Regions from separate parts of the Homo sapiens genome. Here regions 2 and 3 are each linked to region 1. The links are contacts of gene promoters, found by promoter capture Hi-C in blood cells and fetal thymus (Javierre and others, 2016). All regions are on one chromosome and are shown on one strand. The core of a region is centred on a gene start or on the middle of the fragment in contact, and the rest is flanking DNA. Distances in the headings are between cores, read along the strand shown.

Region 1 (3,419 bases), core at 666-3,165:
TCGGCAGACAAAGCCGCTGCTCGGGGGAACCCGCGCTGCACCGAGGCGACCTCCAGTCTTTGGCACCTGCGTCGCCGCCCGGCAGCTCCGCGCCGCTAACCACGCCGCGTCTCGGCAGCGGGTGGACAGCGCGGGGCGGGCGGCGGCGCTGCACCAGAAGGCACCCGAGCCGGAGTGGGGGGGTGGCTGTCTGCAGGCCCCCAGGCCGGGGGAGCGCCTCCCACACGGGATTCCCGGCGTGGCCAGGCCCCCATAAAACCCCAAAGCCAGCACGTGCCCGGAGGTTCCGCAGGGAGTATTCCCAGCACCAGAAAACTGCACCCTCGCGTCCTGGGTGGCCCTGGTTTGTCGTCGGATGGACACCAGGGTCGGCTATTGTTCTCCGGGTCTCCCCGAAGGGAGATCCGCCTCCCTGGCAGCACCTGCTGCTGGGCAAAGCCTTTCAGCTCCTCGAGAAAAGGGCGTGCCGTGGGCGCCGCGGAAGATCACAAAACCCTAAGCGAGTCGCTACCGGCTGGTTTCAAGCCTGGAGACAAAGCTCCTCACCAAGCCAGCCCAGCCCGGTCCCGGATCTGCCATCCTGGGTCCCTAACCCCGGTCCGAGGGCCACGCCCAGCCGGCCACCTGGGCCGCGGGGCCCCGCGCCTGGAGCTGAGGATCCTCGGGCCCGAGACCGCCTCTCAGCTGCTTGCCCCTCCCTCCTCGGGAGGCTCCCCTTCCCAGGAGGCCCCCCTCCCCCGCACAGCGCGGGTCTTCTCCTCGCTCCCGTCCTCCCTCCTCAAACCCAGGCGGCCTCCACCCGCCTGCATCCCTCCTCCCCTCCCCATTCTTCAGCAGAACCAGCCTCGCCGGGCGCCACCTGCACCGAGCTCCTTCCCTCGTTCTTCGGACCCGCCCCCGCCCCTTCTCTTTCCTCCTCAAACCCTAGTTCCCACTCCCTGCTCCCCGAGACCCACTACCTGTCCTAACCCAGCTCCCCAGCCTTCCCCATCCCCATCTTTTCTCAACCGAGGCCTCCCCTCGCCCTCTCCCGGCTTCTCTCCAGCTCAGACTACAGCCCCGTCCCCAGGCCCGGGGCGTCGACGTCGGTGCCCGCTGAGATCGATGCTGCAAGGCGGGCTCCCGCGCTGGGCTCCAGCCGAGGGACCCGGCTCGGCGCCCGCTCCGGGCTGGGCAGCCGCAGGAGGCCTTTGTGGCTCAGGCGGGAGGCTCGGAGGCGGCGGGCGAGTCCTCTGCAGGCGTCCGCTCCGTTAGCCGGGCGGTGGAACAGACCGCCGGGTCGGGTCCAGGCTGGGCAGATCCCAGCTCGGAGGCGAGAAGGACGGAGGGTGTGTATCTGGGTGGTGTGTGGGACCGGGGACAGCGCAGATCCTGGGACCGGCAGGACTGGCCCCCGGCCAGAGGCGCCCCCGCCCAGCCCTCCAGCGGTCCACTGCACCGCGCCCGGCTAGGAAAGCGGCCCACTGCGTGCTAGGCGCGAAACCCCTCGGCCGAGCCGCCTCCTCACCCCAGGGCTTTGCAACCCCGCGAGCACGCATTAAACGCTTACTATGAGCAAGGCCCGGCACGGCGCTTCGCGGGCGTACAAAGAGGACCCCAAGAGCGCCCCGGCTTAGCCCCGATGGCCACCTCCCAACCCCAAACCACACCTCCCGCCGCGTCCCCTGCGGCCGGGCCCCAGGCTCACCCGGCTCCCCGCCCTTTTGTGCGCCTCACGCAGAAACAGAAGGGGGAGAGGAGGATGTCCTAGCCCGGGAGGGGTAAGCCCACCGACCCCCCTGCCATCACCCACTCCTCCGAGATGCTGCGGCCGCGGGGGCCCGTGGCTCGGTCCGTCTCCGTCTCGCCGCGGCGCCGGAGCTGCGGGTGCTCGGGGCGGCGGCGGCTGCACGCGCGCTCGCTCGGGGGCCGCCTCAGCGCGCCCAGCGCGGGAGTCCAGAGTGGGGAGCGGGGGAGGGGCGCGTGTCGGGGGCTGGGAGCGGCCTCCGCCAATCACCGCGCGGCCGGCTCCTCCCGCCGCTCCCCACCTCAGCTAGCAGGTTAAGGGGAGGCGGGGACAGGCGGCGTCCCGCATCCTTGGCGCCGCGCGCCGCCGCCGCCTGGGGACTACAACTCCCGGCAGGCCCTGCTGCAGGGCCGGGGTCCGAGAGCGGACGGAGGGCGCGGCCGGAGAACTCACCGACCCCCCTAGCACCCGGCTCCGCGTTCCCTCGGGTTTCCATGGCGACTCAGGACACCACAAAGCCTGGACGCGCTGAGGCACGGGTCCCCAGGGAGGGCCGGGGGCGGTTCCGGAGGACACCCCGCCTCCCCTCCCCCAGCTGGATCCCACCCCAGGGGCTGAAACAATGCCGCGGCCGCCTCTCCCGGGCTGCGGCCGCGCTGCCCTCCGCCGCAGGACCCCGCCGAGGCCGCCTGGTTCGCGCCAAGACCCGCTCCGACGCCCGCGGGATTGCGGGATGCAAAGGGCCGGGTGGGCGTTATAGGAAAACTGTTCTCATGAACAAAGTGGACGGCCACTTGGGGCCACCGCAGTTCGCATCTGCACCCGGGGAGGTCTCGAACCCGGAGTGCGTTCTCTCCACTGAGAAGATTTTGCCCAGCGCCACGCGGGTGCTTCCCTGTCCAGAGCGCTCAGGCCCAGTGCCTGTCTTATTTCTGGCTTCTGTCAAGGGACAGCGAAGCCTTTGGAAATTATTTATAACCCAATTTACATTCGCTTCACCTGTTTCTTCATGTTTAAATACATACATAATTTACCAAAATAAACAAATCTAAAAAAGGAGAGGAAGGATCATCCCCGGTTTGTCCCACCTCCCTAGCTAATCCCGGTTCAAGCCTTTGCCATTGATCTGTGTTATTTTCTGCAGTTGTAATAATAGTTTGGATTAGTCATTTGCCTCTTTGCACTTAATGTCACTCCAAAGGCGTTGCGATGCGCGTTAAAATGCAGCATCAAGGACCTCCAAGCTGCAGCTGCAGAATCCCTCCCTCCCCGGGCTCCCCGGCGATCCGGTGGGGAGAGGAGTCCCCTGGCAGCCATGGCCTCGTGAGGTGGTTCTCTTTGCAGGATACTTTCAAACAAAATGGTGTTCACTACTCCGGGGGCGTGGAGGGGGTCCCCTCTCCCCATCTCAGCAAAATCTACCCGGGCGCAGGACCCGCAGAGCCCGCCAAGGCGGGGTTCCCTGCCGTCCTTCCCCAGAGAGCTTAGGGCCTGGACCAGGCCAGGCTGGCCTTTGAGGGATGCATTTCTGGATTACCCCACCCCTGAGTCTGCACTCCTTCTCCCCTTCCCAACTCCCGCCTGCTTGGTAAGCAGAGAGCAGGGAGCCCCCAGAGGAACCTCAAAGCATCCCTAACCCAGTGCAGCCCGGGATGTGGCTGTGAAAACTGCTCCAGCTTGGGGCACTGCCCTA
Region 2 (3,419 bases), core at 375-2,874, 350 kb before region 1:
GCTATCTTCTTGTTTTCTCAAAGCCCTCCTTTGAGGGCTTTCACAGGGGTCTTGCTAAGGGATGGGCCACCAGAGGCCCCAGGGAAATGTTGGGTATTGGGTCCCAAGACCCTGGGACCATGCGGGCAAGTAGAGATTGGTGCCCAAGGAATGCCCTGCCAACGAATTGCTAATTGTTCTCACCTCTGCTCTTCCCAGGCCCACAGGGCTGCAGCGGTTCTATTCCTTGTCTTACTTATGGTACAGTGCTCACAACTCCACCACAGTGATTGTGGTGGGCCTGATTGTCAGTCTACTCACTGGTAAGGGTGTGGGATTGCGGTGCAGATGAGCACCGAGGGGTTAACAGAGGGCCCTAAGGGACTCTAGGGAGAAAGGCTCCTGCCCTCTGAGCTCTTGGGTGTCCGTAGCTGTCAGGCTTTTCTGCTGGGATGTAGGAGGTGGGTGGGGGCTGGGGTCTCTGGGGGCCAAGGGAGGACATGGGGCCCGCTGCTGTGGATGGTTCCACCCAGAGACTCAGAAGCACATTTCCATTCAGGGAGAATGCGAGGCCGGTCCCTGAACCCTGCAACCATTTACCCAGTGTTGCCAAAGCTCCTGTCCCTCCTTCCGTTGTCCTGTCAGAAGCGGCTCCACTGCAGGAGCTACGGCCAGGTAGTACCTGCTGTCCAAGTGACCCCTCCCTGCCCTTCTCCACAGATGCCACTGACTCTTCAGGTTCCCTTCTACCCCTTTTCTCTCCCCCTGCCCCGGGTGCCTCTCTCAGGATCAGCTAAGCCTAGGCTGTCCCACACGGCTGTCTCAGGTTCTACCCACAGGACTGCACTGGCTTGGTGGGCAGAAGGATCTCAGGGCTCAGAGGAGCTCAGCCCCAGCCTGGGCCAGTCAGCTCCCCTCCCCAGCCCACCCTGTGCTCCCTGCTGTGCTATGCCCTCCCTCTTTTCCCCCTGCTCTCCCTCCCGAACCCAGCCTTGCTGGGCTCCCTTCTGGCGGGGACCTTTTTTGTGTGAATCCTGTCAAGCACCCGTCATCCGTCTTCACCAGTTCCACCCCTTTGGCTCTGTGTTTGCAGGACCACCTCGACACTGGCCTGTTTCCTGAGAAGCCGAGGAATGGTGTGCTGGGGGACAGCAGAGACAAGGAGGCCATGGCCCTGGATGGCACAGCCTATCAGGGGAGCAGCTCCACCTGCATCCTCCAGGAGACCTCCCTGTGATGTTGACTCAGGACCCCGCCTCTGTCCTCACTGTGCCAGGCCATAGCCAGAGGCCACCCTGTAGTACAGGGATGAGTCTTGGTGTGTTCTGCAGGGACAGGCCTGGATGATCTAGCTCATACCAAAGGACCTTGTTCTGAGAGGTTCTTGCCTGCAGGAGAAGCTGTCACATCTCAAGCATGTGAGGCACCGTTTTTCTCGTCGCTTGCCAATCTGTTTTTTAAAGGATCAGGCTCGTAGGGAGCAGGATCATGCCAGAAATAGGGATGGAAGTGCATCCTCTGGGAAAAAGATAATGGCTTCTGATTCAACATAGCCATAGTCCTTTGAAGTAAGTGGCTAGAAACAGCACTCTGGTTATAATTGCCCCAGGGCCTGATTCAGGACTGACTCTCCACCATAAAACTGGAAGCTGCTTCCCCTGTAGTCCCCATTTCAGTACCAGTTCTGCCAGCCACAGTGAGCCCCTATTATTACTTTCAGATTGTCTGTGACACTCAAGCCCCTCTCATTTTTATCTGTCTACCTCCATTCTGAAGAGGGAGGTTTTGGTGTCCCTGGTCCTCTGGGAATAGAAGATCCATTTGTCTTTGTGTAGAGCAAGCACGTTTTCCACCTCACTGTCTCCATCCTCCACCTCTGAGATGGACACTTAAGAGACGGGGCAAATGTGGATCCAAGAAACCAGGGCCATGACCGGGTCCACTGTGGAGCAGCCATCTATCTACCTGACTCCTGAGCCAGGCTGCCGTGGTGTCATTTCTGTCATCCGTGCTCTGTTTCCTTTTGGAGTTTCTTCTCCACATTATCTTTGTTCCTGGGGAATAAAAACTACCATTGGACCTAGAATTTGGGCTCCTGTACTGTCTTCACCTGCTCTTGTCCACCCTACTGCATCCTCTGGTGAGGATAAGGAGTCCTATCCTATGTACAGGTCACCTTCCTGTGCTGAGGAGGGGGGCTGTGGCTTCAAGTCCCTGCTGTCCCTGTGTCTGCAGGGGACAGTGTTGTGCTCACCATGGTAGAAGATGCACACCCTCTCCTAGGGCTTCTCATCCCCTGGGGCTTACTTAGTCTGTCCCTTCTCCGGCCCCACTTTCCCTTTGCCAGAACCTTTTGCTCTCAGATTTTTACTTTTGGAACTGGAGGAAGAATGTTCCCATCTGATTTTAGAAACGGAACATTCTAGCTGGACTTTTATGGTCTTGTGAAGAACACTGTGCTCACACCCTCCCACACCTGGCCTCTGCCCCTGCCTGGCCCTGTTCAGCTGCCCACATCAGCTCTGCACCAGCTCTCCGGGGTCTCTTAACAGAGACCGGGTCCCAGGCATATCTGAATTCAGCCTCAACTGAGGCCTTCTCCCAGGGCTTCTAGAGCACATTCCAGCTGTTCTCTCATACTCCATGTAGCTTAGGCCTGGGATGTTCTGTGTCCCTTTTTCTACCTCTACCCCAGCTCACTCGGTCACACCCCAGCCCCTTTCACCTCTGCCCTGGCCAGCCCTGTGGAGGAACAGGGCCTGGTTGTGCCAGAGCCAAGACACTAGCTACTCCCAACCTGCCTAGGCCTCATTTATATTCATGACGACAATATTGTCTCCTAATGGGTCTTAAACCTGTTGCCCTGGATTTTTTTTTCCATTCCACAAGGCTCTGGTCTTGAACATAAACATTCCTTCCAGTATGGACTTCAGGTGTCTGGTCATGATCTATTCTCAGTCTGGGAAGGTACTTTGACAGGCCAAAGGTGTGTCCACTGAATCTACCATATTTCAGACATGCCTGAGTGGTACTCCAGGGAGAACTGGGGAGAATGATCCCCAGGGTTTAATTTGCTGAATTAGGTAGGGTGGAAGTGAGTCTATGTAAGAGGACATGGAAACATTTTACGAGGGGCCCTTGGACTCAGGCCTATTTTGTTTTGTCCTGTGAATTAAAACTTCAATGATGGGAAGATAAGAAGCCTATAATTATTATTTAGAAAAGATTCCTTTGGGAGACCGAGGCAAGACGGTTGCTTGAGGCCAGGAGTTCCAGACCAGACTGGGCAACATAACCAGATCCTGTCTCTACAAACACAAACTAGCCAGCATGGTGGCATGAGCCTGTAGTTCCAGCCACTTGGGAGGCTGAGGTGGGAGGATTGCTTGAGCCCAGGAGGCTGAGGTTGCAGTGAGCCAAGATTGTACCACTGCACTCCA
Region 3 (3,419 bases), core at 394-2,893, 320 kb before region 1:
GTGGCCTGATCATGGGTCACTGCAGTCTCAACCCCCGGGGCTCAAGCAGTCATCCCACCTCAGCCCCCTGGGTAGCTGGGACTACAGGCATGTGCCACCACACCCAGCTAATTTTTGTATTTCTTGTAGAGGTGGGGTTTCACCATGTTGCCCAGGCTGGTCTTAGACTCCTGGGCTCAAGCCATCGGTCTGTTTCAGCCTCCCAAAGTGCTGGAATTACAGGTGTGAGTGGCCGTGCCTGGCCACTGCATGAATTTAAAACGTGTTCCTCCAGAGAAGGTTTGCACCTGCTTGTGCCAGGAAACACTACTAAATCGTGACCACTTTAAAATTTTGGCCTCCCCCACAACAAAACATCCTTACTGAGGGTGTTGCCTTTTGAGGATCCCAACTTTGTGACAGAGTCTCTGATCCAACTTCCCATTTCGAATGGGCCCTAGGTGTTGTCTCCTGTCCCCAGGTGTGGCCCGTAAGACCCAGGCCTTGGGCACCAGGAATTTGCAGATATTGCAAAGGCAGCACTGACTTGAGTGCTGGCTTACCATTTTTTGCTACATGCTTCCTTATTCTTTCTCTTATTCTTTTCCCTTACTTTTCTGCCAGGCAAGCAATACTTTTAAGAATATGTTTTTACGATTTTAGCCATCATTTTGAGTTTCTGTACCAGGAGAGTTTCTCTGAACATCTAGTCTACCATAGTGTCAGAAATGGGTGGAGGCTTGGGCCTTTGTTACAAGCAGGTTTTTAAAGGCAAAAAAGAGGACAAGGAGTGGGCTGATACAAAGTTGTTTGTCAGGAATTCTCATTGGTTTACAGAAATAACATTGATTAATGATTGGCTGTACAGTGTTGAGCTATAGAGTGTGGGTTATAGAGGACCAGAAGTGGCAGGAAATGGAAGAACAAATCTTAGAGGAGCCAATTTGGGGAGGTTTTAAGCTTTCTAAAAAGCCAATTAAGTTTTACATTTTCATCAGCAAAATCATGCCAACCAGAAAGCAGAGGGATCAAACTTTTTTTTTTGTAAGAGGTGTCAATCAACTAAAAAAAATTCCCAGAAACAGAATCCAAAAGAGAAAAAGCAAAGAGCCCCCAGCCTCACATATAGCCTGGGTATTGGCTTGTAAACAGAAAAACCAAACTCTGTGAAATATATTAAAGAAGTTTATTCTGAGCCCATATGAGTGACCATGGCCAGGGGAATAGTCTCAAGAGGTCCTGAGAAAGTGTGCCTGAGGAGTCAGGTTACACTTTGGTTTTACACATTTTAGAGGGACAGGAGTTACAGGCAAAGATATAAATCAATACATAAAAGGTATACATTGGTTTGGCCTGAAAAGTTGGGACATCTTGAAGTGGGAGCTTGCAAGTCATGGGTGGGTTTTAGAAATTCTTTAGTTGATGGTTGAGAGAGTTAAGCTATTGCTTAAAGACTTGAATTCAGTAGAAAAGAATGCTTGTGTTAAGGTAAGAGGGTCAGGGCAGCATGGTGGCTCACACCTGTAATCCCAGCACTTTTGGAGGTTGACATGGGTGGATCATTTGAGGTCAGGAGTTCAAGACCAGCTTCGCCAACACGGTGAAACCCCCTCTCTACTAAAAATACAAAAATTAGCCGGGCCTGGTGGTGCACGCCTGTAATCCCAGCTACTTGGGAGGCTGAGGCACAACAATCCCTTGAACCTGAAAGGTGGAGTTTGCAGTGAGCCAAGATCATGCCGCTGCACTCTAGCTTGGGCAACACAGTGAGACTCTGTCTAAAAACAACAACAACAAAAATGACAAATAAAAAAGGGAGTCACGGGTGCCAAGGCCCTTATTATGGAGATGAAGCCTCACAGGGACCAGCCCTCAGAAAGAATAGATGGTAAATGTCTCTTTTCAGATTTTTTAAAGTGTCAGCCTCTCAGTTAATCTCTCCTAGATCTTGGAAAGGCCTAGAAAGGAAGACCTGGTTGCAGTGGTGGAGATTCTCTACAGATACAAACTTCCCCCACGAAAGACAGCTTTGCAGGACCATTTCAAAGTATGCCAAACAAATACATTTTGGAGTAAAATATTTTTATTTCCTTCAGGGCCTGTAATCTGCCATGTGGTGCTAAGCCACAGTCAGGTTGGAAAGTAAGCCACAGTATACTGCGTTAATTTTAAAAACCCAGTTAATGAGATTTTATGGTTTGTTGGGTATGATTTAACCCTTGCCTTTCATGGCCTCTAGCAGTTTCTAATCATTCATTGAGTCTTTAATTAAAATATCATATTTTTAATTTCTGAAAATTCTATTTTTCCCCCAATTCTGCCTGGTTATTAGATTTGTTGGAAATAAAGCTCAGGAAATAAAGCTTGCAAAGGAAATGAGCACTCAGATAACTTCTCTGCAAGGCAAAATTTTACTTCTATAGAAGGGTGCTACCTGCATGCAAGGCAGAGGCAAGGGAGCACACTGAACAAAGGAGAGCAGGCATTTTTATCCCTAATGCAGACCCTGTTCCTGGGTCCTCCCCCGGTTGGCTGGAGTCAGACCGCACGATCTAAGCTAATCCCGATTGGCTAGTATTGACATCATCGAAGGAGGCAAGGGTGGGCACTTGATGGGAAGGACGGGCACATAGGTGATGGGACATGCTTGGACGTGTTTGGGTGCAACAGAGATAGGGAGGGCTGATAGATGGACAGGTAACATTACTTTCAGAATAGAACAAAGAACCAGGAACTGAAACTTTTGAAGAGAAACTGTTTGTGCCTAACAGATTGTTGTTCAAAATTTGGTATCTTATTGCCACAGATACTCTCTTTTGCCAGTCTTATAATCCCTGTTTTAACCACAATGCTTGTCAGTTGTGCCTAAACACCAAAAGGGAGGAGGGGTATAACAAGACATGTCGGACCTCACTTCCCACTGTAAACCAAAAATAAAAGTCTAAACCCCCAGTCATCTGAATGGACTCCTCCTGTCCCTAAAGGGCATTCCAAAGTTAACCTGAAACACTAGTTCAGGCCATGATGGGAAGGGGGTTCAGACATGCCTCATGATACCCTCCTCCCTTTTGGATTTACTGATAGAACAGACTCTTTAAGTCTGATAAGAACATTTACAATCTATTCTCTCTGAAGCCTGAGACCTGGAGGCTTCACCTGTATCATAAAACCTTGGTCTCTACAACCCCTTATCTTAACCTGGACATTTCTAAGTCTTTAGACAGTAACTTAACTCTTTCAACCAATTGCCAATCAAAAAATCTTTAAATCTACCTAAGACCTAGAAGCCCTCCACCAGCTTCTAGTTGCCCTGCCTTTCTGGACTGAACCAATGTACATCTTACATGTATTGAGTGATGTCTTTTTTTTTTTTTTTTTTTTTTGAGGCAGAGTCTCGCTCTGTCGCCCAGGCTGGAGTGCAGTGGTGCTATCTCGGCTCA

Evidence for each region. Contacts are between HindIII fragments. The CHiCAGO score rates a contact against its expected background, and 5 or more counts as called.
Region 2: a fragment that was not itself captured here is called in contact with the fragment with the promoter of DPYSL5 in region 1 in 1 of 17 cell types (megakaryocytes); the score reaches 5.5 in megakaryocytes.
Region 3: a contact is called between a fragment that was not itself captured here and the fragment with the promoter of DPYSL5 in region 1, in 3 of 17 cell types (megakaryocytes, erythroblasts and endothelial precursors). The highest score is 5.5, in megakaryocytes.

Annotation. Positions count from the first base shown.
Region 1 is chr2:26,846,628-26,850,046 of GRCh38, reverse strand. DPYSL5 (dihydropyrimidinase like 5) reads right to left here and starts at 1,915. Exons shown (of 13, transcript NM_020134.4): 1 at 1,793-1,915. The HindIII fragment of the contact is 4,603 bases long and covers 1-3,419 here.
Region 2 is chr2:27,198,233-27,201,651 of GRCh38, reverse strand. SLC5A6 (solute carrier family 5 member 6) reads left to right here. Exons shown (of 17, transcript NM_021095.4): 15 at 199-302; 16 at 539-654; 17 at 1,073-2,065. The coding sequence ends at 1,216. Among named protein-coding and RNA genes, the nearest start is that of ATRAID, 12 kb to the left of the region's middle. The HindIII fragment of the contact is 6,317 bases long and covers 1-3,419 here.
Region 3 is chr2:27,164,688-27,168,106 of GRCh38, reverse strand. No RefSeq gene overlaps it. Among named protein-coding and RNA genes, the nearest start is that of TCF23, 17 kb to the right of the region's middle. RefSeq lists an enhancer at 2,406-2,715. The HindIII fragment of the contact is 1,403 bases long and covers 942-2,344 here.